Linked DNA regions of Homo sapiens: regions 2, 3, 4, 5, 6 and 7 are each linked to region 1. Evidence: promoter capture Hi-C in 16 types of primary human blood cells and fetal thymus (Javierre and others, 2016). All regions are on one chromosome and are shown on one strand. Each heading gives the region's core, a stretch centred on a gene start or on the middle of the fragment in contact. The rest is flanking DNA. Distances are from core to core; before and after follow the strand shown. Region 1 holds the start of TBC1D10B (TBC1 domain family member 10B). Region 2 holds the start of SEZ6L2 (seizure related 6 homolog like 2). Region 3 holds the start of CDIPT (CDP-diacylglycerol--inositol 3-phosphatidyltransferase). Region 4 overlaps PPP4C (protein phosphatase 4 catalytic subunit). Region 5 has its middle 14 kb from the start of FBRS. Region 6 has its middle 15 kb from the start of ALDOA. Region 7 overlaps SRCAP (Snf2 related CREBBP activator protein).

Region 1 (2,835 bases), core at 128-2,627:
TCAGAGGAGGCTGGGCTGCCAGAGTCTGGGCAAAGTGTATCGTTTTCGTTTCGCCCTCCCCCAACCTTTGCTTCCCCGAGGCGGTCCCGCTGGGTGCCCACTGGTACTCACAGGCTGCCCGAGTACTGGCTGCCCCCAAGGAAGCCATACTTGTCCGTCTTGCGCAGGGCCAGCCCGTTTATCTCTGAATCTGAGCCCATGGAGCTCACATCATCCGCCAAGGACTCCAAGGTCCCAGACATGAGGCTCACGGAGTCCAAGTAACTCAGCGTGTCCGGGGCCTGCCCTCGAGGCCCAGAGATGCCAGGTCCCAGGCTGGACGTGGAGCCCAGGTCTTGAGAGTTTTCAGCAGGCTCCGGAGCTGGGGTCACGGTCACGACAGCTACCGGAGCCTCACAAGTCCCAGAGGGGCCTGTGCCAGGGCCTGAGGGGTCCTCAGGAGCCTGTCCTGCTGATGCTGATGTTGCTGCGGCAGCTCCATGCCCACCTGTCACTTGTCCTGATGCACTCCGTGCAGTCACTCCTGAGGCCACTGTGGTTCCCGGCTTGGGGGCAAGCGGGGGTTTGGCGGTCAGGGCACCAGGAGCCGTTCTGGAAGGGGTCCTGGTAGGGGTCCCGGTGGGGGTCCCTGGTCCTGGGGCGGGTGAGGGTCGAGCCTCCTCTGTCTTCGGCGAGTCTGCCCCTGCGGCCAGAGCCCTCGATGTCTCAACTCCAGCCACTGCCGCGGGCTCTGGGGATTCCGGGCCGGAGGGGAGCTGCGGCTTTGGGGCTTCGGGCGAGGCCTCCAGGGTCAGCACCACCACCGTGCTGCCCGTGACAGCCGGGGCTGGGGCCGGGGCTGGGGCCGGGGCCGGAGCAGAGGTCTCGGCCGACCCCGGGACCCAGGCGGGCCGCGCCTCCCCGGGGGCCACCAGGGTGACGGGGGCCGAAGTGGCCGTAGTCACTGGAGGTCCCGGAGCCACCACCACGACGGGCCCGGCCCGGGAACCCCGGGGCGGCGGCGAGGGGGCCGCGGGGGCGCCATGACGGCGCGGCGGGGCCACCAGGGGCGCCGTGCCCGTCTCCATGGCCGCGGGCCGCCCCTCACATCCCCCCGCCGGGGAGGCCGCAGAAGGCGCCGCCCCTCGGGCCTCCCGGCGAGGCCAGCCGAGAAAGGGGAGAGGGCGAAGGGCGCGGCTCGGCGCGCGCCGGGGGCGGAGCGGCCGCTGGGCGCGCAGAGGCGGGGCAGGGGTCGGGGGGCGCCGCGCGCCGGGGTCTCTCTCGAGCCCTCTCACCCCCTCGCGCGCTCTCGCCACCGCCCCCTCCCTCCTGCTTGGGGGCGAGCCGCCGACCTCGCGCCTGCGCACACGCCGCAGAGCCGGCTCCGCGCCAGCGTCTCGGCGTTCCACGCCTGCGCGCGGACTGGCTCATCGCGCTCCTTTTTTCTCCCGCCTAGTCAGAGGATTTGGACGAATAGTGGGAGAGAGAGAACTGGGCTTCTGCCAATCGTTGGAATCGTGGGCGGGGCTGGAGGCGAAAAAGGGGTGGGTCATCTGGAAAGAGGAAACGGAGAAAGCTAGGGCTGTAAGACCAATCAGAGGACGAGGAAAGGCAGGGGGCGATGGGACGAAAGAAATAACCAATAGAAACGCAGGGGTCTGAACCTCCTGGCCAATGAATATGACTGAAGGGTGAATGACCGCGGAAGGGCGGAGGAGGAGGCAGGGCTGTGCGAGTAAGAGGTGGGGCCTGGAGGCTTCTTAACCAATAGGAATGGTAAAAAGGGAGCCAATGAAAAGGGGAGCAGGTGGAGGTCAAATTGACAGGCAGTGATGTCTATTTAGGCGGTGACAGACAGCATCCGCAGTCAATAGGAAGAGCTGAAGAATTCTTTAGGTCTCCCAAAATGGTCAGTAAGGAATGACAGCTGGGAGGAGGCGGGGCAAGCTAGAGATTAATTCGCCCCGTCAGCCAATGATCGTGTTCTCCCACTTTGGCCACAGGACAGGAAAATAGATAGCTGTCTCAGCCAATGGGAGCATCCAAAGGGCAAAGATGCTGCCAGCAGGCGGTGCCAGCCCAGGGATAGTCGGTGACAACCGGAGACAAGCCTTATGGGAGGGTGACAGCTGGGGACAGCACGGAGAAGGGGCGGGGGCATTAGTGCAGCCCTCAACCAATGAGTGCCGCGCTGCCCCCTCTCGAGTCCTTTCCGGTCCCCTATTCTTCGTTCAGCTCCTGAGCCCCACACTCTGGTGGTCTGTGGGACCCTGAGCCCCACCACAGATCCAGTGCCCTGACCCAGTACTCTCATCCTTTACTCTATAATTCTCCGATCTCGGCCCCCAACTAACCCCAACACTCCAGGCCCAGGTGGCAATAGCCAGAGCCCCCAGATCCTATAAGCAACCCATATCTCTGCTTCACCCATTTCCTGCGGGAATCCCAACCTCCAAGTCCCTCTCCTCAGTTCCCATCTATCTGAGCTCCTCCCCAGAACCCAGGCTCCAGTTCCTCAGACCTTATCCCTCTGAGTACCCCCTCCATTTCTTCTAGTGGGGATCTCAAACCCCAAATCCATGAATCCCTAATACCATGAACTCCCCATATGTGTGTTACTATTCTTTTGGGGATCCAAGGCCCCAGTCCCGTCAACCCCTCTCCCCTCACTGCCACATCCCTCTGTGCTCCTCATGTTCCACTGAGAATCCCGACCTCAATCTCATGAGCGCTCCAGGTTGTCCTTAGATCACAAGCATAAAGACCTGACGTTATGAGCTCCAACCTTCCAACTTCTAAACGCCCTCTTCTTTCTCTGACCCCCATATTCTGATTTCCATATAGCATCCACCATCC
Region 2 (2,829 bases), core at 329-2,828, 470 kb before region 1:
TTCAGGGGCAGACCTAGGAGGTGAAGTTGTGTGAGCTTCTCCACTTCCCCACACCCCTTCCTTCTCCAGAGAGATATTTTCTAGAACTCTTCCTCCCTCCTCCATCAGCTGGGCCTGCAGGGGCTCAGATGGTCCCAGGCTCGACTGAGGGCCAAGATCGGAGGAGGGGCTCCCAGCTGCCCTCATACTCCCACTCCCACACCTCTTCTCTCCCCTCCCCTCTCCCTTCTCCCTGGGCTGTGTGGGCCTTCATTGAACACCTTAGCTCTTATGGACCCTGGACAGCGCCAGCAAGGCAGAGGGGTCGCCGGTGCTGCCTTCCCTTTCACCTCAGTGGTGATCTCCCCCCAACCCTGGGGCTCTGCAGAGGATCTGGCCGCACCTCCCAGCCCTTGCTTCCGCAGTGCCTGGCTTTCTCTCTGGGTTTCTGTCTCTGCAGTGTGGCTGTCTTTTCTCTCTCTCTCTCTCTCTCTCTCCCCCCCACCCTCTCTCTCTCTGGTCCTCTGCAGTCTCTGCCTCCTTCCCTGGAGTCTGGCTGGGGGTCAGAGTGGGGGACTGAAAATCTGGTCTTTGAGCCCTGCCTCTGCTCATCTGTCTTTGTCCATTCATCCAAGAACAGTTGTGTGTACAGCGCCTGGCATCTCTCTCAGCACCTCCATCTCCCACCCAGGTCCCTCCATGCTTCTGCCGCCTCCGCAGACATCCCCCCAACTTTCCCAGCCCTCCTTCTTGGATCTAGCCCCTGAGACACTGCTAAAAGCTTCTCTCATTCATTTCTCTGCCTTCTCAATATTGAGGGTTAAGGGGCTTCGGGTTCAAGCCTGAAAGCTCTGGCTTGCCCCTTCCCCATCAGCTGTGCCTCTCCCCTCCCCCATGTGCTCGGAAGACCCAGGATATTAAGAGAAAGGAGGGTGGAGGACCCCGCTGGACGCCTTCCTGGGGCCCACCCCCACAGTCTCATGTCCTTACCCTGGATCCAGGGACAGCTCAGCAGAATTAGGAACAGCAGCTGGGGAGGCGGCGGGTGCTGGGCCCTGGGAGTCCCCATGGCGACTCACCCCGATCTCTCTCCTCTGTGCCTCTCTAAGTAATCTGGCTGCCACCTTTCCTCCGTCTCCGTTTATCTTTCCCTTTAATTGTTTTTTTTTTTTTTTTTTTTTTCCTCGTAGGAGTCAGCAAAGAAAGACAATTTCTCTGCCCCTTGGGATGGAGGGGCAGAATTGGGCTAGGGGTCGCCTGGAGCCCACCCCCCTTTGCTCAGTCTCCTCTGTCCTCTTCTCGCGGCTCTGTGGTGGAGGGGGCGCGGCTCCGGCTGCAGGGGGTGGGGCCGAGAGGGCCGAAGGGGCCGGGTGGCCTGGGTTACCCTCCTGCTCAGGCGCCTGGGTCCACTGGGCTGTCTGGACCCCAAGCTAGGGGACTGGGGAGGAGAAAGACAGCTTCTGGGGGTTTAGGGTGGGGTCGAGGATCGAGGGGGTCTCCACTGGGCTCTAGCGGGGCTTGTCGGGGAGGGGAAGGGGTGGGTTGGGGAACTGGGAGAGCCGAAGCTCGGGCACTGGAGCTGCGGGAGGGAGAAGCTGAGAAAGGTATCGAGCCCACGTCAGATCCTGGGGACGGGCGGAGGGAGGGGCCTGGGATTTATTTGACGGGGAGGGAGGAGGAGGAAGTGCAGATGGAGGAGGGAGGGATCATACGAGCCAGGGCCGTAATCCTCACTCCCGCGGCCCCTAGGGGAGGCAAAGGAAACTCTCTGGTCCCAGCAGTAATTAGCCCCCTCCGCCTGCCATTCCAGCACATCTGGAATCTGAATCTCCTCTTCCCAGGGTGCCGAGGGGCTGCATAGCTTGGTTCGCGCCTGCTAGGCCCCCAATTATGCCCCCTGTTCACATTCAGACCTCCCAAGGGGCTTCCCTTCCCCTTTTACAGTAGCTCGGGTGGAATGGGCTCTCCCTCCTCCAGGGGAATAGAGAGCTTCCACGATTGTGACAAGTCTCGTGGGTGACGGGCCGGGGTTTGGGGAGGAGAGACAGACCCCTCCTCTTCCATAAACCCTGACCCCGGCCAGCTAACAGGCGGCCTCGGCTCTGATTTTCCCTCCGGAGCGCCCTTTTCAGCACCAGCGGCGCGCGGACAGCTCCCCTCGCCCCGCCGGGGCGGGCCCGGCCCGACGCCGCCCGCGATTGGCTGAGGCCGCTTTCGGTGTTTGCCAGGCTCGCGGGCTCCCGGGCTGCCTAGGGCCAGCGGGAGTCACAGGCCGACCGACCGACGGACCAGCCGCCCGACGGACTGGCCTCAGCATCCTTGCCCGCAGTCCCGGGCGCCTGCCCAGCCGTCAGTCCGCGCTCGCCCCGCCCCTCAGGCCCCGCCCCTCAGGCCCCGCCCGATACGACCCGCCCCTTCTTTCGCATTGCGGGACGGCTGGAGGCTGGCACCGTGGCCCCTGCGCCCCACGTGGCGCCCTTTCCGGGCGGGGGGGGTGGGGAGGCACCTCCAGCGACAACTCTCCCCCCTCCCCCGGCACCCGGCTGATTTGCTGTGCCACTGGGAGGGTTCGGGGGTGGCTGAGCTGAGAGGGCTCCGGGAAGGAGTGACGTCAGGGTGAGTGGGAGCCCAGGAAGGAGCGAGTAGGAGAGAGGGAGCGAGAGCCAGGCAGGACCGCAGGGTCGGGGCTAGTGAGGAGCGAGGGCAAGGAGAGAGCAGTGAGGCCGGAGAGAAAGAAGCTGCCGCGGAGGAAGACAGGCTGCGGGTTCCCGGGACTGCAGGTCCAGGCAGGGTAGGAACCGCTGCCCAGGGGAGCTAGGAGGAAGCGGGGAGAGAGAGCGAGCGAAAAGC
Region 3 (3,066 bases), core at 544-3,043, 510 kb before region 1:
CAGGATTCAGCCCAGGGCTTCCCACAGCCAAGAGCCTGAGGGGTGGGGTGTGCAGGAAATGCTTACCCTCGAGGTGTAGTAGATCCGAAGCACCGGATTCCCGGACAAGTCGATCATCTTGTGACTCTCACTGCCTCGGACCACAGAACTTGGGGAGAAAACAGGGGAACCCACAAGGTTTCATGACCACTACCATGCATCCAATCCTCATGTTAACACCTATTGTACAGATGGAAAACTGGGCACGGCTAAGGACCAGTATCCTGCCGAAAGCCACAGTTACCTATTTGGGGGCAGAGTCAGGATTCAAATGCCACATTTGAAAGCTCCCATGCCCCTTCCTATAAGCTGTCACCTATATGGAATCCTAGAATACCCAGCCAGAAGAGTCCTAAGAATTGCTTAATGCAACTGTAAACATGACTGAAGCTTTAAAGAGAGGCAGGTTTGCCTGGGGTCTTTCTACAAAGCAGAGCTAAAAAGGAGCCCTTCCAGGATGCCTAGTGCCATCCCAGACACCCTTCCGTCTAGGCTCAGCCCACCCCACTGTAATGTCTCCAAGTGGCCCAGGCCCCCAGAATCGCAGCAGACCTGTGGAGGTGCAGCCAGTGACTGGCCACATCCAAACTCATGCTGATTTGGAAGAACAGCGTGGCTCCAGGGTACAGCAGGGCCAGGTTGACCAACAGGCACATGGTGGAGCAGCGGTCCGTCAGCATGTCCAGCATGGCCCCAAACCGGGTTCCTGGAAGATTAGGTGGGCAAGGGCTGTTATGGCACAGTGGATGCAGGACAGGTGCCCATATTTGGTTTATCACTCTGACGCAGGGTGTAAACGAAGACTGGAAGTGTCCGCCTGCCTGGGGAGGAACGCAGGCTAGAAAACAGGCTGTGTGTGAGGTCAGTGGGCAAAGGTCACCATGGCATGAACTGAGAAAGGCATGAGAGTGGAGGGAACAGGGTAGGAGGAGAGGAAAGCTATGTCTGCAACTCATCAACCCCAGAACCAAGACTCCAGGGCTAGATAGAGACTTGATGCCTCAGGGGAAGCCTTACAGTTGGGTCTGGAGAACAGATTAAAAAATTAGTCAACCCTCCAGAAGCCATCACCCTTCCCTCTCCATCCTCCCTCTAAGCATGCCTTCTGGAACCCCAACTGCTTATGCAGGGCACACAGTAGGCCTCCAGTAAACACCTGTTGAATACACTGTTTTTTGTTTTTTGTTTTTTTTTTTCCGAGACAGAGTCTTGCTCTGTCGCCCAGGCTGGAGTGCAATGGCGCAATCTTGGCTCACTGCAACCTCCGCCTCCCGGGTTCAAGCAATTCTCCTGCCTTAGCCTCCCGAGTAGCTGGGATTACAGGCACGCGTCACCAAGCCCGCTAATTTTTGTATTTTTAGTAGAGACAGGGTTTCACCATGTTGGCCAGGCTGGTCTCGAACTCCTGAACTCGTGATCCACCCACCTCGGCCTCCCAAAGTGCTGGGATTACAGGCGTGAGCCACCGCCCCTGGCCTGAATGGACTTGTATTCAGAGAGACCTCCAGCAGCGCCACCGCCATGTCATGTCTTGCTAATCCACACCTCTCACAAGCAGTGAGTTCTCAAGAGCTAGCTTAAATTCCTTTTGCTACAAAATCAGTCCATTCTTGCTGGGCGCGGCACTTTGGGAGCAAGGCAGGAGGATCGCTTGAGGCTAGGAGCTGGGGACCAATCTGGGCGACACTGCAAGACCCAGTCTCTACAAAAATTTAAAAATTAGCCGGGTGTGGTGGCACGCTCCTGTAGTCCCAGCTAGTCAGGAGGCTGAGGTGGGAGGATTACTTGAGCCCAGAAGATGGGGGCTGCAGTGAGCCATGATCGCGCCACTGCACTCCAGCCTAAGTGACAGAGCGAGACCCTGTCTCAAAAACAAAAAAACAAAACACAAAACAAAAAGCCCCAGGCCATCCTGTTCTGCTTTTTCCAGAGATGGGAATGACAGCCCTCTGACTCTGAGGTCCCGAGGAGGCAGGGGAAGGGAGGAGGGGATTGTTGAACCCCAAGGCTGGCTGAGAGGGGTGTCTGTCACCTTGATTAAGAGCGCGAGCAGCGTGTCCATCGAAAGCGTCCAGCAGGCCGCTGAGCAGGTAGAAGGAGGAGGCCGTGAGGGGGCAGCAGGGCATGAAGTAGAAAGAAATGATGGCGAAGACAATCCGGGCATAACCTTGGAACGGGACGCGGGGAGACAGGGCAGGATCAGGGAGCCCGCCAAGGCCCCTCGCCCTCTCGTTCGGCCCGGGGCCGTGGGCAGCACTCACCGATGAGGTTGGGCACGAACAGGAAGATATTTTCGTCTGGCATCGCGGCGCCTCCCTTGCTGCCCCGGGCCTGCTCTGGAGATGCCAGTGCTGTCCCAGCCCCGCAGCGCGGCCTCAGCCTCCGGCCCGGCGCATCGGCCGCACCACCTGCGCCCTGGACCCCGCCGCCCCAACCTGGCCCCAGATGCTGAAGCCCGCAGCCGTCGGGAGCATGGACCGGCCCCGAGGTGCGCGGGACGCAGGGGGCGCGCGCAGTCCGCCCTTCCTACCCGCAACCTCCCTCGCCTCTGCCAGCCCCGCAGGCGCTCCGGGCCTCCAGCTGCGGTCGCCGCTGCTCCAGCTGCGCGTGGCTTCCGGGAACCTCCTCCTCCGCGCCCGTCGTTGCAAAATTGGAGAGAGGAAAAAGTGGCTTAAAAAAATAGTTGCGGCCCCTTTAAGGCCTGTCGGCTTCCTTTCCCTTTTCCTCCCTCCGCCCCTCTCCCTTGGCTCGTACCAAAGCGCAGAGGAGGAGAGGGAGGAAGGAACCATTAACGTCAAGCAAAGTTAGAAACGGAAAAGGAAAGGGTAAAAGAGAAGACCGAATAAAAATCTCTGCTTTCCTTTTGTGGAGGGTATGACTTCCTGGAGGCAAAGATAAGGCGATAAAATTCCTCCTCCTGAGTCTTTGCGTCCCCAAGAGGCCAGGAGATTTGGTGCAGTCCTCACTTTACTCCCCGCCCCCTAAGTCTCCAGCCGCCTTTGCTCTCGCAGGCTCTAGGCGGCTAGA
Region 4 (2,801 bases), core at 116-2,615, 290 kb before region 1:
TTGGTGCTGGAGATGAGGTTAGCACAGTGTTTTGGTACAGCATACGTGCTTGATAATCACCAGGTATTCTATTTCTTTTGGAAGAGGGCAATAATGAGATGGGCTAAAGCCATCAGGGAGGGCTTTTGAGTGGAGGTAGGCCTTGAAGGATGAAGATAATTTGGCTAGCTGATGGAGGCAGGGCCAGTGAGGGAAGGGCATTCCAAGCAGGACGAATGTAACAGTGGAGGCCCTGAGATGCGTGGGGAACAGTCAGGGGTTTAATTACCTGCCTCCTCTGGGGAACTGTGTGATTGTGGCTTCTACCAGGCTGGAGAATTGTGGCAGAAGAGCCCACAGAATTACCCTACGTTTATTGAACAGTAAACATTGGCCTTTACAGGGCCACTATTTGGCCTGGCCCGGTACTGGCAAAAAACTTCTATCCATCTCTTCCCCCCAGCAATCCTATGAGGTTGGAATCATTTGCTGCATTTTATCGAATAGGAAGCCATGACTCGTAGAGGTCTGGTGACTTAACTGAGGTCACCCACTGAGGACGTGGCAGAGCTGGGTCCTGAATCTGTGGCCCTCAGGCTCTTTGCCTGGCCCTGCCTCACATAGACTACCTGCAGCCAGACAGGGCCTGTGAGGGGATGATGAGCAGGGTCGGCCTCTTTTTCGCCACCTGTCTGTGGCTTTTCTCTTTTGCCAGCTGACCAGACCAGCCCCATGGTGTTTTTAGTTGTCCCCTTTCCCTCAGTCCTGATTGGCATTTTTAGGAACTTAAACCTGTTGTTGCCTGGCACTATTCTTTAACCTCGAAGTATTGTCTCCCTCACGGGCCCTGGATCAGTGTGGTGGTGATGGTAGACAAAGCTTAGATAGCATGCTGGAGTTTGCAGAATAGCAGGAAGTCGTATATTCAGTCTCCATGGCTCCTTGCAACAGCCTAAGGAATACGCAGGGTGGGCTGAGTACTTAGCCCCATTTCATAGCAGAGGAAACTGAGCCTTTGAGTAGATAATGTCTTGCCCAACATCACGCAGCTAGTCGGAGGGGAAGTTAGTTTTGCATCCAGGTCTTTGACTGTGCTCCGTGGTCACTGAGAGCCAGGCAGAGGCATTTAGATTTTGATGTGGGGTGTGAGGCAGCAGGAAGCCATGGAAGGCTGAGGGGTGGAGGGTCCTGCCCAGTTGAAACTGAGTGGAACTAGGAGGTACTAGGCCAAGGCCTGAGTTGGCCGCTGTTGTCCCAGGCTCAGTCTGAAGCAGGGCCATCTCTGATACCTGGTTATGGCCTCCTGGGGACCCATCAGAGACCCAGGCTGAGGCTGGTGGTGTCAAGAGCACCAGCTTGCCTAGAGGGCACAGACATGCAGATGAAACCAGTGGAAGCACAGAGGTCCGCAGTGTCTGAGCTGAAATTGCTGCTACTAGAAATATTAGCACAGTAGGAGAGCTGAGCTTTTGAATCAGGTGGTCTTCAGTATGAATCTTTGCCTTGTCACCTAGAAGCAATATGACCCTCGTCAAGTCACTTTCTGATTTTTTGAAGTGATAATGACATGCAGTTGAGAGTCCGGGTATCCGGGCACAGGGCCTGCTGCGCTGGTAGCCGTTACTGCAGGCAGGTCCTGATAGGGCTGGGGAAGTGCTGCAAGTGGCAGAACTGGGGCTGGAATCTGGGCCTGATTCCCAGGCCACACTGGGGTTGCGCTGGCACTGAGGGGGGCTTTGCAGAGAGCACGGGCCCTGCATGTGACCTCCCTGGGCTTCAGGTTTTCACTCAGGGTCTGTGGAAGGGGCTGGCATAAATTCTCAGGAAATTGGGCTTCTGGGTTCCAATTTAGCCACTCTCCAGCTTGGTGACCTTGACCCTCCCGCTTTTCTGTAAGCTTTGGTTTCTTTTTTTCTTTTTTTTTTTTTTTGAGACAGAGTTTTGCTGTTGTTGCCCAGGCTGGAGTGCCAGTGGCCTGATCTTGGCTCACTGCAACCTCCACCTCCTAGGTTCAAGTGATTCTCCTACCTCAGCCTCCCAAGTAGCTGGGATTACAGGCACGCGCCACCATGCCCAGCTAATTTTTGTATATTTACTAGAGACGGGGTTTCACCATGTTGGCCAGGATGGTCTCAATCTCTTGACCTCATGATCTGCCTGCCTTGGCTTCCCAAAGTGCTGGGATTACAGGCATGAGCCACCGCGCCCGGCCTAGCTTCGGTTTCTTTACTGTTACGTGAGGCTGAAGAGAACCTCCCCAGTCTGTTGGAAAGGTCACTATGAGCAGTTGATGGGGAAGGATGTTCAGCACAAGAAGCAGTGCAGGTGGGAGAGTCCGGGTACTGATGTGGCCTCTTGGACCACCGCCAGTGCTGCCTTCTGTTCCCAGAAAGCCAGGGCAGACCTCCTTCGTGCTGCCTCTGCCATACAGAGCAAGGGGCATAAGTGAATCCTCCTGTCCACTGAGCTCAGGAAACTCATTCTAAGGGAAGAGATTGGCAGAAAGAGGGGGGCCAGGCGAGTTGGGCCTCCCACATCAGAATATCTTGATAAAGAGTCAGACCCCAGAGCCAGGCTTCCCTGGTTCATATCCCACCTGTGTCACTGGCACCAAGCCAGCCTCCTTCCCTGCTTCAATTTCTTCATCTGTGTACCGGGAATCATCATAGTACCTGCCTGCCAAGCTCTTAATAACATTTGTGGCACACAGTATGAGCTCGAATGTTCACTGCTGCTATTACCAGGCAAAATTTGGAAATACAGTGTTGCTTAAATTGGGTATCTATAGGCTGGGTGCAGTGGCTCACATCTGTAATCCCAGC
Region 5 (2,890 bases), core at 100-2,599, 300 kb after region 1:
CTCCCGAGTAGCTGGGATTACAGGCATGCGCCACCACGCCTGGCTAATTTTGTTTTTTTTTTTTTTTTTTTTTTTAATAGAGATGGGGTTTCTCTATGTTGGTCGGGCTGGTCTCTAACTCCCAACCTCAGGTGATCTGCCTGCCTTGGCCTCACAAAGTGCTGGGATTACAGGCGTGAGCCACCGCACCTGGCAACCACTGTTAATTTTCGGGGAAATTCCTCCAGTTATTTTTCTAGCTACTACAGGTCACTGCAACAAAGCGAGGCACATGAATTTTTTCATTTCCTGGTGCATATAAATGTTATGGTTCTGGCTGGGCATGGTGGCTCACGCCTGTAATCCCAGCACTTTGGGAGGTTGAGGCAGATGGATCACGAGGTCAGGAGATTGTAGACCATCCTGGCCAACATGGTGAAACCCTGTCTCCACTAAAAATACAAAAATTAGCCAAGCATGATAGCGTGCGCCTGTAGTCCCAGCTACTCAGGAGGCTGAAGCAGGAGAATTGCTTGAACCCAGGAGGTTGAGGTTGCGGTGAGCTGAGGTAACGCCACTGCACTCCAGCCTGGGCGACAGAGCGAGACTCCATTTCCAAAAAAAAAAAAAATTACTGTTCCACAATACTGCAGTCTTAAGTGAGCAATAGTGTTATGTCTATGAAAACGGTACATCCCTTAATTTTTTAAATGCTAACAGTCATCTGAGCTTTTGCAAGTCGTAATCTTTTTGCTGGTGGAAGTTCTTGCCTCATTGGTGATGGCTGCTGACTGACTGAGGTGGTGGTCGGTGAAGGCTGGGATGACGGCGGTTTCTTGACAACAAGGAACTTTGCCTCCTTGATTGCCTCTTCCTTTCACTTGAACACTTAGAGGCCATTGTAGGGTGTTATTAATTGGCCTAGTTTGAATATTGTCTCTGGGAAGAGGGAGGCCCAAGCACAGAGAGAGAACAGTTAACACACATTTATTGATTGAGTTCGCCCTCTTACATGGGCACTGTTTGTGGCACCCCAAAGCAATTACAATAGTAACATCAAAGATCACAGATCACTATAATAGATACAATAATGGAAAAGTTTGAGATAATGGGAGAATTAACCAAATGTGACTCAAACACGAAGGCCAGGCGTGGTGGTTCACGCCTGTGATCCCAGAACTTTGGGAAGCCAAGATGGGTACATCCCTGAGGTCAGGAGTTCAAGATCAGCCTGGTCAACATGGTGAAACCCTGTCTCTACTACAGAATACAAAAAGCTGGGCATGGTGGCTGACTCCTGTAGTCCCAGCTACTCAGGAGGCTGAGGCGGGAGAATCACTTGAATCCGGGAGGCGGAGGTTGCAGTGAGCTGAGATTTTCCAGCCTGGGTGACGGGGCGAGACTCTGTCTAAAAAAAAAAAAAAAAAGCAAGTCACTACTAAACTGGGCTGTCAGGGCTGTTGCCTACCTGAGCTCCTATAGAATTGACTGAGTGACCTTATTCTAAGTATGCCTGCTTTTTTTCTTTTTTGAGACAGGGTCTCACTCTATCACCCAGGTTAGAGTGTAGTAGTATGATTTCAGCTCACTGCAACCTCCACCTCCTGGGCTCAAGCAGTCCTCCCGCCTCAGCCTCCCGAGTAGCTGGGACTATAGGCATGCACCACCACACCCAGCTAGTTTTTGTATTTTTTGTAGAAACAGAATTTTTCCATGTTGCCCAGGCTGGTCTCAAACTCCTGGACTCAAGCTATCTACCCCCTTGGCCTCCCAAAGTCCAGGGATTACAGGTGTGAGCCACCACACCCAGACTTGTTTTGCTTTTGAGGCAGCTTTTGAGCAAAACAACAGCCGGTCTGTTGCCCAGGCTGGAGTACAGTGGTGCAATCACAGATCACTTCAGCCTCGAACTCCTATTCCCAAGTGATCCTCCTGCCTCAGCCTCTCGAGTAGCTGGAACTACAAGCCTGTGCCACCACATTTGGCTAGCTTTAAATTTTTGTAGAGACAGGGTTCTTGTCTTGTTGTCCAAGCTGGTCTCAAACTCCTGGTCCCAAGCAATCCTCCTGCCTCAACTTCTGAAAGCGCTGGAATTACAGGCGTGAGCCACTGTGCCTGGCCCATAAATGTACCTGTTGCCTTAGGAAAGATGCAGCCAACATTCCCTGCCACCACCACACATATCCAGGATGTCTAGGGAAGGCTCAAGCCTAGATTGCTCCAACAGAAGTCAGAAACAAGTGACCAGAAGGTGAACGTTGGCTTGCAGACAAGATTTCACATGGAAGTTCTTGTTTTCAGCTTCTCTTGAAAAATCCAAAAATCTGTGGTCACTAGACCTGCTTACCCCCATGGCTTTCCTTTGAAATGGGGCATAATCTCACCAGATTGCGACTGTCCCCTCCACTTGTTGTCTTGGAGTAGACCACAGTCACTATTCAGGCTACCTCTCTGGCCCCTATAGGCATTTGAGAGTGACTCTCAGTGAAATATTTTCTTTCTTTCTCTCTCTCTTTTTTTTTTTTTTAGACAGAGTCTTGCTCTGTTGTCCAGGCTGGAGTGCAGTGGCACAATCTCAGGTCACTGCAACCTGCGCCTCCCAGATTCAAGCGATTCTCCTGTCTCAGCCTCGCAAGTAGCTGGGATTACAGGCATGCAACACCATGCCTGGCTAATTTTTTGTATTTTTAGTAGAGACAGGAGTCACACTAAATGTTGGCCAGCCTCGTCTCGAACTCCTGACCTCAGGTGATCCGCCCGCCTCAGCCTCCCAAAATGCCGGGATTACAGGCGTGAGCCACCGTGCCCAGTAGAGTTAAATATTTTCTAGACATGCCTATCCCACCTCTCCTAGATCTCTCCCCAAGCACCTCAGATATCCCAAATTAAGTCATCTTCGAGATCTGATGCC
Region 6 (2,744 bases), core at 44-2,543, 320 kb before region 1:
TCCCTTCCCACGTCCAAGCCTGCTGAAGCTTCTTTCATCTTCTGGGAACTCTGCATCTCTGATCTCCCACCCACCCCACGATTATTGGAAGTATACAATCCTGTCTGCCCTTTCCTAGGGGAAGTGCGGAACTACATATGATACATCTGACATCTCCAGCTTCCAACTTCGGGAGAGGAGACTTTGCGGTTAGCTGGCTATTGTGAAGTCAGTTTTTCTCTGCCCCCAGCAAATGTTGTGATGTGGATAGAAGTGGGGCCTCGGCACAGCCAGGCGCAGTAGCTCACATCTGTAACCCAGCACTTTGGGAGGCCGACGTGGACAAATCACAAGGTCAGGAGTTTAAGACTAGCCTGGCCAACATGGTGAAACCCTGTCTCTACTAAAAATACAAAAATTAGCCGGGCATGGTGGCATGCGTCTGTAATCCCAGCTATTTGGGAGGCTGAGATAGGAGAATCACTCAACTTGGGAGGCAGAGGTTGCAGTGCGCTGAGATCGCACCACTGCACTCTAGCGTGGGCAACAGAGCAAGACTCCATCTCAAAAAAAAAAAAAAAGAGAAAGAAAAGAAATGGGGCCTTGGCAAAGTGGGGTGCATACATCATCCCTTGTCTTGGCTTGCCTGGCAACACACAAGCCTGGGGCACTGCCCGTGCTCCTGCATAATGTATGAGCCCATGGTAGGAACAAAACACCAGCACCAGCGAGTCTGGGCACTGCAGGCCACGGACGTGTCCAGGGGCCTTGCCAAGGCTGAAGTCTCTCTGTTGGCAGAATATGCAGAATATGTGTTCCTGGAGGCCTTTTGTAGGGCTGAGGTGAGAACTGGCCTCAACTTGGTCCTCAGGATTCCATCAGACAATAAGACCGCCCAAGGCCGGGCACAGTGGTTCACGCTTGTAATCCCAGCAATTCGAGAGGCTGAGGCAGGAGGATCGCCTGAGCCCAGGAGTTCAAAAACAGCCTGAGCAATACAGTGAGACCCCGTCTATACAAAAAATTTTAAAAATTAGCTGGGTGTCGTAGCATGCACCTGTAGTCTCAGCTACTTGGGAGACTGAGGTGGAAGGATCCCTTGAGCCAGGAGGTCGAGGCTGTTGTGGTGAGCCATGATTGTGCCATTGCACTCCAGCCTGGGCTACCGAGTGAGACTCTGTCTCAAAAAAAACAAAAACAAAAACAAAAACCGGAAGACAGCCTAAGAAGACAATCTTCTTTAGGATCAATAATGGTGACATTAGCAACAGCTAGACTTCTGTTTTCTGGGCTTGAAACGCCCTCTGAGAGGGCCAGGGGTGGCCAAGAGGGTGGCTGAGACCACCTCAGTATGGTTGACAGTGGGAGGGAAGATTTGGATCCAGGGACACAGCCCCTGGCAGTTTCCGTGGCTGCCTCATGGTGTAGGAAACCCCAGGAGCAGCAGCTGTGGTGAGGTATGTTGGGGTGGAGAACATGGACAAAAATAGGTATATGGTGGCATTGTTTTTAGGGGAAAATGCCAGGATTCAGCCATCGTTTAGGAAGTCGGAGGCCTCCATAGAGAGGGGTGCTTGTGTGAGCGTGCATGTGTGGGTGTGTGCAAGTGTCTGTGTGTGTGTGATCTAAAAAGGTTAGGAATGAAACGGGGAGGTCTGAGTGCCTTGAAAGCCAAGGAAATTAGGACGTGTGGAAAACAATGCTTCATTCGTGGATGGTGTTTGGTTTCAATTCATTCATAGAATCAGTGAGTATTGGCTGAGTGCAGTGGCTCTGGCCTGTAATACCAGCAACCTGGGAGGCCGAGGTGGGAGGATCATTTGAGGCAGGAGTTGGAGACTAGCCTGGCCAACATAGTGAGACCCCATGTCTACTTTATTAAAAGAAAAAAACAGGCCAGGCGCAGTGGCTCACACCTGTAATCCCAGCACTTTGGGAGGCCAAGGCGGGCAGAACACCTAAGGTCGGGAGTTCGAGACCAGCCTGACCAACATGGACAAACCCCGTCTCTACTAAAAATACAAAATTAGCTGGGCATGGTGGCACTTCCAGCTACTCTGGAAGCTGAGGCAGGAGAATTGCTTGAATCCAGGGCGGAGGTTGCAGTGAGCTGAGATCACACCATTGCACTCCAGCCTGGGCGACAAGAGCAAAACTCCGTTTCAAAAAAAAAAAAAAAAAAGAAAAGAAAAGAAAAAAGAAAGAAAGAAAGAAAAAGAATCAGTGAGTATTCACCAAGGCTCCCAGGGCTAGGCCAAGTACTAGAGCTCAGGATACGGAGATGACTCAGACCAGGCCCCAGACACTTGCAGTCTAATTGTGGAGCCAGACATGGAAGTGAGGAATTCAAGTATCTTGTGAGAAGTGCGAGAACAACAGTATCTGTAGGATGCTGTGGGAATTCACAGTCCAAAGCAGCCACCTCTGCCTGAGGTTGGCAGGGAGACCTCACAGAGGCAAAACTGAGGACGTGCTTGAGGGATGAGGAAGAGGTTTGAGGGGAAGACAGAGGGTGTTCCAGGCAGAGGGATCAGCAACTGCAAAGCTGTGGAAATGTGAGACCCTACACACTGGTTCAGGAAGCTTCAGCAGATCCTACTGAAGGTGGCTTATGCCTGTAATCCCAGCTACCTGGGAGGCTGAGGCTGGAGGACTGCTTGAGCCCAGGAGTTCAAGACCAGCCTTAACAACATAGCAAGACCACATCTCTAAAAATTCAGAAAAAAAGGCTGGGCACAGTGGCTCATGCCAGTAATCCTAGCACT
Region 7 (2,820 bases), core at 213-2,712, 360 kb after region 1:
TCATCAACACAATCAACTTAGAACCTTTCCGTGGCCCCAAAAAGAAACGCTGCACCTGTTAGCCAGCATTCCCCAATCCCTCCGTCCCTCCTAGTCTTGAATGACTACCATCCTACTTTTTTATTTCTCTAGTTTTGCCTATGGAGTCATAATGTATAATGTGTGGTCCATTGTGACTGGCATCTTCTACTTAGATTAATGTTCTTTGAATTTTATTGTGTTATAGCGTATATCAGTACTTCATTTGTTTTTATGTTGAATAATAATGTATGAATACCACATTTTATCCTTGAGTTGATGGAAACGTGTGTTACTTCTGCTTTATGGTTGTTATGAACAATGCTGCTGTGAACATTTCATGTACAAGTTTTTGTATGGACAGGTGTTCTCAGTTTCTGTTAGATACATACTGAGGAGAAGAATTGCTGGGTTATATTGTAACTAGGTTTTAACTGTTTAAGGAACTGCCAGACTTTTCCAAAGTGGCTGCAGCATTTGACATTACCACCAGCAGTCTGTGAGGATTCCAGTTTCTCCACATTTGAGCCAATACTTTTTTTTTTTTTTTTGAGAAGGAGTCTTGCTCTGTTACCCAGGCTGGAGTGCTTTGGCACGGTCTTGGCTCACTGCAACCTCTGTCTCCTGGGTTTAAGTGACCCCACCTCAACCTCCCTCGTAGCTGGGATTACAGGCATGTGGCACCATGCCTACCTAATTTTTTTGTATTCTTATTATTTTATTTTATTTTTGAGACAGAATCTTGCTCTGTTGCCCAGGCTGGAGTAAAGTGGCACCATCCCGGCTCACTGCAACCTCCACTTCCCAGGCTCAAACGATTTTCCTGTGTCATCTTCCCGAGTGGCTGGGACTACAGGCATGGCGTCACCACGCCTGGCTAATTTTTTTATTTTTAGTAGAGATGGGGTTTCACCATGTTGGCCGGGCTGGTCTCGAACTCCTGACCTCAGGTGATCCGCCTGCCTTGGCCTCCCAAAGTGCTGGGATTATAGACATGAGCCACTGCACCTGGCCAGATTTTTTTGTATTTTTAGTAGAGATGGGGTTTACCATGTTTGCCACGCTGGTTTCGAATTCCACACCTCAAGTGATCTGCCCGCCTCAGCCTCCCAAAGTGCTAGGATTACAGGTGTGAGCCACCATGCCTGGCACATCATCACTTTGATTATAGCCATCCTGCTGGGTGTGAAGTAGTAGTTCATTGTGATTTTGATTTGAATTTCCCTGTTGGCTAATGTTGAGCTTTATTTCATGTGGTTGAAATACCATGCTGGCCATTTGTGTATCTTTGAAGAACTATCTGTTCAGATCCTCTGCCCTTTTAAAATGGGTTGTCTTTTTATTATTGAGTTGTAAGAGTTCTTTATATATTCTGATTACAGATCCTTTTTCAGACGTATGGTTTACAAATAGTCTTTTTTTTGAGACAGTGTCTCACTTTGTCAATCAGGCTAGAGTGCAGTGGCACAGTCTCCGCTCATTGCAGCCTCCTGGGCTTAAGTGAACCTCCCATCTCAGCCCTCCAAGTAGCTGGGACTGTAGGCTTGTGCCACCATGCCAGGCTACTTGTTTGTTTCTTTTTTTGAGATGGAGACTCACTCTGTCACCAGGCTGCAGTGCAGTGGTGCGATCTCAGCTCACTGCAACCTCCGCCTCCCAGGTTCAAGCGATTCTCCTGCTCAGCCTCCCAAGTAGCTGGGACTACAGGCTTGCACCACCACGCCCAGCTAACTTTTTTGTAATTTTAGTAGAGATAGGGTTTCATCATGTTGGCCAGGATGGTCTTGATATCTTGAGCTCATGATCTGCCCGCCTCGGCCTCCCAAAGTGCTGGGATTACAGGTGTGAGCCACCGCGCCTGGCCCTTGTTTGTATTTTTTGTAGAGATGCGGTTTTGCCATGTTGCCCAAACTGGTCTTGAATAGGAGGCTCAAACCATCCACCTAGGCCTCCCAAAGTGCTGGGATTATAGGCTTGAGCCACTGCTCCTGGCCAGATTTTCTCTTTTTGCTACTATTGGGAGCTAGCCTCAAAAGGAACTAGCTCTTTGAGTTTATTGGTTTTTCCGTCTGCTAGGACACCTTTTTTCCCTCACATAGAGCACTTCAAGCCAAGAGGTGAAACTTGGTAGCAGTCAGGAAGGAGATTTGGAACACTCCTCTTTTCACAACTATCTCTTGGGGTCTAGTCTCCCTCATTTGTTCATTTTGTTAACAGATAAATGTATTGAGAGCTTAATTGTGCTAGTTACTGAGTGATTATAGTGAGCAAGGCACAGTTCATGTTGTATGGGGCCTACCGTGTAGTGGATAGATATTAGTTAAATAATCATACAGATGTGTAACTACAAGCATAATAAGTGATACAAAGAAGTTTTTCAGACTGTGAAACTGGAAGCACAAAGATGGGAAAGGATTGGGTCAAAGTCATCCAGGTGTCCTCACTGCCGGGTTGCCCATTTTCTGTCTCAGAGTGATGAGACTCGGATGTCCGGTTAGCTGTTCCCATTCCACCCCATTCCAGTCTGGCCCTTGGCAAAAACCTGGTCTGGATTTGATTGGCGCCTCTGTATCCTGGTCAGTGATTTGAAGAAGGCTATAGTCCTGGAGTTGAGTGTTACGTAGGAAAATACCCACAAATCGTCCATTCTATAAACTTGTTGGAATTGTAGATCTTAATTTTGAATATTCAGTCATTCTGCTTTGGTAGCATACAAGGAAAGATCAGTTTTCTCTAGGAGAGAAGTTACTTAACATAACTTCTGAGAAAGAATAGTTATTTAACATAAAAAAGAAAGTTATT

The links. Contacts are between HindIII fragments. The CHiCAGO score rates a contact against its expected background, and 5 or more counts as called.
Region 2: the fragment with the promoter of SEZ6L2 here is called in contact with the fragment with the promoter of TBC1D10B in region 1 in 1 of 17 cell types (M0 macrophages); the score reaches 5.1 in M0 macrophages.
Region 3: a fragment that was not itself captured here is called in contact with the fragment with the promoter of TBC1D10B in region 1 in 1 of 17 cell types (M0 macrophages); the score reaches 5.1 in M0 macrophages.
Region 4: a contact is called between a fragment that was not itself captured here and the fragment with the promoter of TBC1D10B in region 1, in 16 of 17 cell types (naive CD8 T cells, naive CD4 T cells, fetal thymus and 13 more). The highest score is 18.9, in naive CD8 T cells.
Region 5: a fragment that was not itself captured here is called in contact with the fragment with the promoter of TBC1D10B in region 1 in 1 of 17 cell types (megakaryocytes); the score reaches 5.0 in megakaryocytes.
Region 6: a contact is called between a fragment that was not itself captured here and the fragment with the promoter of TBC1D10B in region 1, in 15 of 17 cell types (naive CD8 T cells, fetal thymus, endothelial precursors and 12 more). The highest score is 14.2, in naive CD8 T cells.
Region 7: a fragment that was not itself captured here is called in contact with the fragment with the promoter of TBC1D10B in region 1 in 2 of 17 cell types (monocytes and M0 macrophages); the score reaches 5.4 in monocytes.

What each region holds. Positions count from the first base shown.
Region 1 is chr16:30,369,117-30,371,951 of GRCh38, forward strand. TBC1D10B (TBC1 domain family member 10B) reads right to left here and starts at 1,378. Exons shown (of 9, transcript NM_015527.4): 1 at 112-1,378. The coding sequence starts at 1,067. It also overlaps a transcript of MYL11 not described here. RefSeq lists silencers at 804-883, 974-1,263. The HindIII fragment of the contact is 4,560 bases long and covers 1-2,835 here.
Region 2 is chr16:29,897,972-29,900,800 of GRCh38, forward strand. It overlaps SEZ6L2 (seizure related 6 homolog like 2), which reads right to left and starts at 1,579. Exons shown (of 18, transcript NM_001243332.2): 1 at 970-1,579; 2 at 1-13. The coding sequence starts at 1,048. ASPHD1 (aspartate beta-hydroxylase domain containing 1) reads left to right here and starts at 2,517. Exons shown (of 3, transcript NM_181718.4): 1 at 2,517-2,829. RefSeq lists an enhancer at 1,477-1,771 and a silencer at 2,135-2,564. The HindIII fragment of the contact is 3,079 bases long and covers 759-2,829 here.
Region 3 is chr16:29,860,515-29,863,580 of GRCh38, forward strand. It overlaps CDIPT (CDP-diacylglycerol--inositol 3-phosphatidyltransferase), which reads right to left and starts at 2,712. Exons shown (of 6, transcript NM_006319.5): 1 at 2,301-2,712; 2 at 2,072-2,206; 3 at 592-745; 4 at 67-148. The coding sequence starts at 2,343. RefSeq lists enhancers at 139-677, 2,833-3,066 and silencers at 2,405-2,714, 2,725-2,784. The HindIII fragment of the contact is 2,733 bases long and covers 428-3,066 here.
Region 4 is chr16:30,077,297-30,080,097 of GRCh38, forward strand. The region is part of intron 2 of PPP4C (protein phosphatase 4 catalytic subunit); the gene reads left to right. Among named protein-coding and RNA genes, the nearest start is that of PPP4C, 2.7 kb to the left of the region's middle. The HindIII fragment of the contact is 1,018 bases long and covers 857-1,874 here.
Region 5 is chr16:30,671,481-30,674,370 of GRCh38, forward strand. No RefSeq gene overlaps it. Among named protein-coding and RNA genes, the nearest start is that of FBRS, 14 kb to the left of the region's middle. The HindIII fragment of the contact is 4,963 bases long and covers 1-2,890 here.
Region 6 is chr16:30,049,379-30,052,122 of GRCh38, forward strand. It overlaps a transcript of TLCD3B not described here. Among named protein-coding and RNA genes, the nearest start is that of ALDOA, 15 kb to the right of the region's middle. The HindIII fragment of the contact is 2,534 bases long and covers 27-2,560 here.
Region 7 is chr16:30,725,970-30,728,789 of GRCh38, forward strand. The region is part of intron 25 of SRCAP (Snf2 related CREBBP activator protein); the gene reads left to right. Among named protein-coding and RNA genes, the nearest start is that of TMEM265, 13 kb to the right of the region's middle. The HindIII fragment of the contact is 4,495 bases long and covers 1-2,820 here.